2 separate regions of the Homo sapiens genome follow, and region 2 is linked to region 1. The links are contacts of gene promoters, found by promoter capture Hi-C in blood cells and fetal thymus (Javierre and others, 2016). All regions are on one chromosome and are shown on one strand. The core of a region is centred on a gene start or on the middle of the fragment in contact, and the rest is flanking DNA. Distances in the headings are between cores, read along the strand shown.

Evidence for each region. Contacts are between HindIII fragments. The CHiCAGO score rates a contact against its expected background, and 5 or more counts as called.
Region 2: a contact is called between a fragment that was not itself captured here and the fragment with the promoter of GPR173 in region 1, in 1 of 17 cell types (M2 macrophages). The highest score is 5.2, in M2 macrophages.

What each region holds. Positions count from the first base shown.
Region 1 is chrX:53,047,379-53,050,713 of GRCh38, reverse strand. It overlaps GPR173 (G protein-coupled receptor 173), which reads right to left and starts at 1,925. Exons shown (of 2, transcript NM_018969.6): 1 at 1,230-1,925. The HindIII fragment of the contact is 17,268 bases long and covers 1-2,615 here.
Region 2 is chrX:52,570,965-52,574,572 of GRCh38, reverse strand. No RefSeq gene overlaps it. Among named protein-coding and RNA genes, the nearest start is that of XAGE1B, 56 kb to the right of the region's middle. The HindIII fragment of the contact is 3,334 bases long and covers 134-3,467 here.

The DNA.
Region 1 (3,335 bases), core at 676-3,175:
CCAAGTAATCGATAACACTATTAATCATGAATAATCAGCAACAATATTGACTGTGAGCTTTGCTGACATTGCTTCAGTGCCACCTCGATGCACATCTCTTACTTACATGCACCAACTCATTCAATCCCTACACACACCCATCAGGGAAGGGTTACCAGTCTCTTTGACAGATGGGAAAACTGAGGTTCGGTAAGTGGCATGCTTCCACTAAAGTTGCAGAGCTAGTAGTTGGGGGAAGTGTCCCTGGGAGGATCCATGTTCTCCATGTACCAGGCTTTCCTGCCCTTCCAGATATATGGACCTCCGGCTACTGGGCACAAGGCCACAAGATCCGGGGGGTCTCAGACACAACATGGACATCTGAAACAGAGACAGAGAGCCTTGTGGTGGAGGCTGGGTCCCACACTGTAGGGACAACCATGTTGTTCCTGGCCCCTGCAGGTTGTCATGGGATTGGTCTTTGCCCCCACAGAACCATCAGGCAGCCTAGGGCCTGGAAGTGCTCCCCACCACCACTTCACTGTCCTTTAGCCCTACAGTGACTTCCTCCCCCTAGCTGGGAATCGGCAACATCTTCAGTGGTGAGTGAGCAAAACTCTGCTACCTGTAGGGAGAGATGGGGAGGTGGGGAGGGTGGAAGGAAGGAAGGAAGGAAAGGAGGAAAGAAGGAGTGGGGGATGGTCTGGGCTGGGAGCAGCTTCTCTGTCATGTCTACCCACCTGCTTGCTACCCAGGTGCACACACACACACACACACACACACACACACACACACACACCCGGCCAGCAGGCCAGGGATCCTGGAGGAGAGTGGAGGAGGAGGGAGAGGGAGAGGAGCAGCCGCAAGAGGCTGAGCCTGCCCAGGGTGCAGGCATTGTGAAGGGAACACGGCCGCCGGGCTCCCAGGCATCCCTTCCACAGCCAGCACACAAGGAAAGATTAACACAGCCTCATGCCCAAACGCAACCATGATGATAAAAACAGACCCTGTGAGGGGAAACAGGTGGTGGTTCCCTTTCTCATGGGACATTTGGGATTGGGGAAGATGGGGGGAAGATGAGGAGTCCCCAGGCTTGGGTACCAAGGAGCCCCTTGATGGAGCAGAAAGAGACTAACAGAGTCAGACAGAGACAGAGAGCATGGCAGTGATGGAGACTCTGAAGTATGTGTGGGGAGACAGAACAGAAGTCCCAGCCCCCCATCCTTGGTGGAGGGATGCTGACTGCTTACCTTGGCTCTCTCAGCAGGGATGTCTTGGAATCCACGATGGGGCTCAAGCTGTCTCACCCAGGTAAATCACAGCCCGGGCCACATTGTGGGACCCTCAGTGATCTGGCGGCCAGTGACACTCCTGCTTCTGTTGCCGTGGATACAGCCGGGCTGGTCTAAATCGCAGGCATCAGGGAAAGCAGGCACCGGAGGGGTGCACTGGGTAGGGCTGGGGGTGTTGGGGAACACCAGGTGGGCAGCACACAGCCTTGGGGTGTCCAACTAGCTGGCAGGTGGGGGTCCCGGCAGGTGCTTCCTCCACTATACACTCCCACTCCCATCTTCATGCCACTGCCAAGCTGGGAGGGGGGCCAGTGCTGGCCCCTGCTACCCGTCTGCCTGCCTGGCTGCCGGTCCCCCTACCCCCCCCACCCCCCACCCCCCCCCTCCGTCTGCCTGCTGGCCGCCGCCTTTTGTCCTCAGAAGACACGGTCCCCGCGGGGCCTCTGCCAAGCCTCCAGCAGATGCTCAGGGTCCGGGGCTCCTCCCTGGGAGCACACGGGCCATGGCCTGGGAGAGCCCCAGGTTGGGGGGGCTCTCATCCAGGCTCACCCCGCTCCCCGGGCCTGGCGGGGATGGGGAAGAGGTGCAGGTCCACAGCCAGAGGCAGCAGCAGAGGTGGTGTTGGGGAGGGGATGGACGCCAGAAAGAGGGGGTGGGGTGGAGAGAGAGGCTGGCCTGATAGCCGTGTCCCGGGTTTTAGATCCGGGTTGAGGAGGGTGGCTCAGAGCATCCGAGGGGGGTCCTCATGCAAAACGAGGGCACCAAGGGCCTGCCAGAGGGACCCTCCTGGCCTGGGAACCACCCCGGTGCACACAAATCCAGGTCCCACGATGCTGGGGACACCCAGCCTGGATAGAGCATCAGTGGGGAGTCCGGGGCCCTAAGCTGGACCCCATCAGGCCTGTCCGTCCCCCCTCTCCTCGATTTGCACGGTCCCTGCCTCAGGGGCGGGCGGAGGAGGAGGGAGGCAGGGAGGGAGAGGGAGGGAAGGAGGAAGGCTGAGCAGGCAGGGAGACTCCCAGCTGCCAGCCTGGTCCTCCCTGGGGCGGGGCGGGGAGCGGGGGGGGGGGCGGGGGGTGCTGGCGAGGCCAGGGAGCAGCCGGCTGGCTGACTGGGTGGGGACGCTGGCGTGGCGGCTGTGCTGCCAGGACAATAGCTGGCTGGGGAAGTCAGGCTCGGGCCTTTCTGAGATGCTCGAGAGAGGCATGAGTGGAGGTGGGGAGAGATGGCCAAGAGGCTGCTGAGAGAGCAACTCACATGGGCTACAAGTGCAGAGGAGGCAGGGCATAGAGGACGCTAGGATCTGGGTCGGGACAAAGGTCCGGCGAAAGTTTCTCAAAAGCTTTGGGCTGGGAGGCATGCTTAGGGCCCGGAGAGGTGGGATTCATAAACTGATTTAGAATGGGGTTCTATGGGCATTTTCCCTGCAAGGCCTGGAGGTTGGCTGGGGGGTTGGGGTGGGAAAGGAGCGCTGCCCAACTCTGAACAGCCCCTCTCAGGATATCTCCTGTGCCATCCCCACTTTCTCGGGGCCAGCAGACAGGCAGAACCCATACTTAAAGCCATGTCCCAGGACAACAGAATAGGAGAGGTGAGGAGAACGCTTGGTAGGCAGAGATATGAAGACAAGGAAAAAAATATTTGTTTCAAATATGATTAAATTGGGACCAAATGATGCTTCAGTGGTTCCCCTAAGTTACAGCATTCAAGAATTCAAATTATCTTGATATAAGAAATTGTGTTTTATTTCCTTTCTTCCTTCATCCATTGGTTCCTTCATTTATGACAAATGGTTTTATGTTAGGCCCAGTGCTGGGCACTAACAGTACCGGGTGACTCAGACCTATGCTCTCTGCCCTTAGGAAATGCAGGCTCTGCTACCAGACTGTGGACCTGGAACCCACTTGCATCTGAATCCCCTGGAGAACTTGTAAAGTGTAGATACCCAAGCCTACCTCCCAGAAATACTAATCTAGGAGGTTTTCAGATGGGGCTTCAAAACCTGCCTTTTGACAAGGCCCTCCGGTGGTCATTTTTATGCCCACATGCTTTGGGGAGGGAGAA
Region 2 (3,608 bases), core at 551-3,050, 480 kb after region 1:
TTTCTGCCGTATATGGATCCCCAACTACTTGCTCTTAGCAAAACCTTTATATGAGGCTACCAAAGTGGGGATAAAGGAGCCCCTCCTTTGGGGAAAAGAACAGGACATGGCCTTCAAGGAAATCAAGAAAGCTTTAATTCAAGCTCTGGCACTCGGGTTGCCAGACTTGACAAAGCCCTTTTATCTGTATGTTCATGAAAGAAAGGAGATGGCCACAGGAGTCTTGGTGCAAATGTTAGGGTCATGGTATCTACCTGTAGCATATCTGTCCAAGCAACTGGACTGGGTGGCCACAGGATGGCCGCCCCGTTTCAAGGTGCTGGCTGTCACTGCTCTGTTAGCTGAGGATGCTAACAAGCTCACTTTTGGACAGAAGTTGATAATTCAGGTGCCCCATACAGTTGTCACCCTGATGGAACAGAGAGGAGGACATCGTTGGCTCTCTAACCCTAGAATGCTGAGATACCAATGGCTCCTGTGTGAAAATCCATACATCACCTTAGAGACTGTAAACACCCTAAATCTGGCTACACTTCTGCCAATAGAATATGCAGAGCATGGGAAGCCCCCGTTATGTGCCCCAGGGTATCATTGCTGTGTAGAAACAGTAGATGAAGTCTTTTCAAGCCGGAAAGACCTAAAAGACCAGCCCCTAAAGGACCCAGACATAGAGTATTTTACTGATGGAAGTAGCTTCATATCCGAAGGTATCAGAAAGGCTGGATATGCAGTAGCCACACTGAACTCAGTCGCTGAGGCCTGCCCTTTACCAGTAGGAACCTCTGCACAGAAGGCAGAACTAATAGCTCTCATAAGAGCGCTACTTCTAGCAAAAGGAAAGTCAGTGAATATCTATACTGACTCAAAATATGCCTTTGCTACCTTGCATGCTCATGGAGCCATCTACAAGGAGAAAGGACTGTTAACTACTGAAGGGAAAGAAATAAAGAACAAAAAAGAAATAGAGCAGCTCCTAGAGGCAGTATGGACTCCAAAGAAAGTAGCATTAATTCATTGTAATGGACATCAAACAGGAGGAAGTAATGAGGCTACAGGAAACAGGAAAGTAGACAGGGAAGCAAAAAGGGCTGCAATAACAAAAATGACAGAAAAAAGAGAGACTTATGTCATGCCCTTATTAGAACCTCCCCTTGCAGAAACTCCTAACTACACCTCCAGTGAAAAGGCATGGTTCGCACAGGAAAACGGGGATTATCAAAGAAAGGAGGCTGGTGGAAGTTTTCAGACGGGAGGCTTGCCATCCCAGAAGCCGTCGCCCCTCGACTTATAAAGCAACTTCACCAAGGAACACAGATAAGGAAGACAGCCTTAGAAACTCTTGTAGGGTGATACTTCTTTGTACCACACCTGACTGCCGTCACAGGAGCCATCTGCGAGCAATGTGTCATATGTGCTCAAAATAACCCCAGACAAGGGCCCACTCGGCCCCCAGGAATTCAAGAAACAGGAGCAGTTGCCATGTGAAAACCTGCTTGTAGAATTTACCCAGCTGCCTTGGGCTGGAGACTATCAGTACATGTTAGTGTTAGTCTGCACCTTTTGAAGGTGGGTTGAAGCATTTCCCACCAGAACAGAGAAGGCTCGAGAAGTAACCAGGATACTACTAAAAGACATTATTCCTAGATTTAGACTGCCACTAACTTTAGGCTCAGATAACAGACCAGCCTTTGTGGCAGAAGTAGTGCAGCAGTTAACCCAAATGTTAAACGGAAGCTGCGTACTGCCTATCATCCACAGAGTTCCAGAAAAGTTGAAAGGATGAACCAAACACTGAAACAACTGTGGAAGAAGTTTTGCCAGGAAACTCATTTAAGGTGGGATCAGGTGTTGCCAATGGTCCTTCTCTGAGTCAGGTGTACCCCCACTAAATTAACTGGGTATTCACCCTATGAGATAGTGTATGGCCGACCACCCCAACTCATAGCTCAAATAAGAGGAGATTTAAAAGAAATAGGAGAACTAACTCTAAGGAGACAAATGCAGGCATTAGGTGAAGTAATGCAAGAAGTACAAGGGTGGGTAAGACAGAGAATACCTGTTAGTCTTACAGATGCAGTACAACCCTTTCAACCCAGAGACTCTGTATGGGTTAAACGTTGGAACCCCATCACCCTCAGGCCTTTATGGGATGGCCCCCATGTTGTGATCATGTATCGGGGGAAATTCAGCCAGATATCAGGCGAAATTCACCCCCAATATTTCACGTAGTTTCTTTTCTATTTTCCCTAAGTGTCAGCCGGTCTGAGAAATAAAGGGACAGAGTACAAAAGAGAGAAATAAAGGGACAGAGTACAAAAGAGAGAAATTTTAAAGCTGGGTGTCCGGGGGACACATCACATGTCAGCCGGTTCCATGATGCCCCCTGAGCCGTAAAACCAGCAAGTTTTTATTAGTGATTTTCAAAAGGGGAGGGAGTGTACAAGGCGAGGTCACAGGACCACAGGACCAGGGCGAAATTAAAATTGCTAATGAAGTTTTGGGCACGCGTTGTCATTGATAACATCTTATCAGGAGCCAGGGTTTGAGAGCAGACAACCGGTCTGACCAAAATTTATTAGGTGGGAATTTCCTCGTCCTAATAAGCCTGGGAGCGCTACAGGAGACTGGGGCTTATTTCATCCCTACAGCTTCGACCATAAAAGATGGCCGCCCCCTGAAGCGGCCATTTTAGAGGCCTACCCTCAGGGATGCGTTCTCTTTCTCAGGGATGTTCCTTGCTGAGAAAAAGAATTCAGTGATATTTCTCCCATTTGCTTTTGAAAGAAGAGAAATATGGCTCTGTTCTGCCCGGCTCACCGGCAGTCAGAGTTTAAGGTTATCTCTCTTGTTCCCTGAACATTGCTGTTATCCTGTTCTTTTTTCAAGGTGCCCAGATTTTATATTGTTTAAACACACATGCTCTACAAACAATTTGTGCAGTTAAAGCAATCATCACAGGGTCCTGAGGTGACATACATCCTCCTCAGTTTACGAAGATGATGGGATTAAGAGACTAAAGTAAAGATAGGCATAGGAAATCACAAGGGTATTGATTGGGGAAGTGATAAGTGTCCATGAAATCTTAGCAATTTATGTTCAGAGATTGCAGTAAAGACAGGCGTAAGAAATTATAAAAGTATTAATTTGGGGAACTAATAAATGTCCATGAAATCTTCACAATCCATGTTCTTCTGCCATGGCTTCAGCCAGTCCCTCCATTCGGGGTTCCTGACTTCCCACAACAATCATGTCTACCCCTACCACTGTTAAAGTTGCAGGTATCACACCTTGGGTTCATCATAGCCTGCTGAAACCTGCAGCCCCAGCTCCAGACTGGTGGACAAGTAAGCAAGATCCAGATAATCCAGCTGGACTGATCTTGCAGAAAGACCAAGGTGCGTCAGAGAAGGACGACTGCCCTGCTCCGACCACACTGGAGGCTGGTCGGTCCATGTATGGCTGAAGCTTGAAGAAACACCAAACCTTGCTCTAGTCACACAACCGGAAGCTGAGTAGTCTACACATGGCCGAAGCCTGAGGAAGCCAGTGCCAGATAAGTAAATGTGGATAGAATTTGCCAGTGTAGTTATTCTTTTGCTTGTACTAAT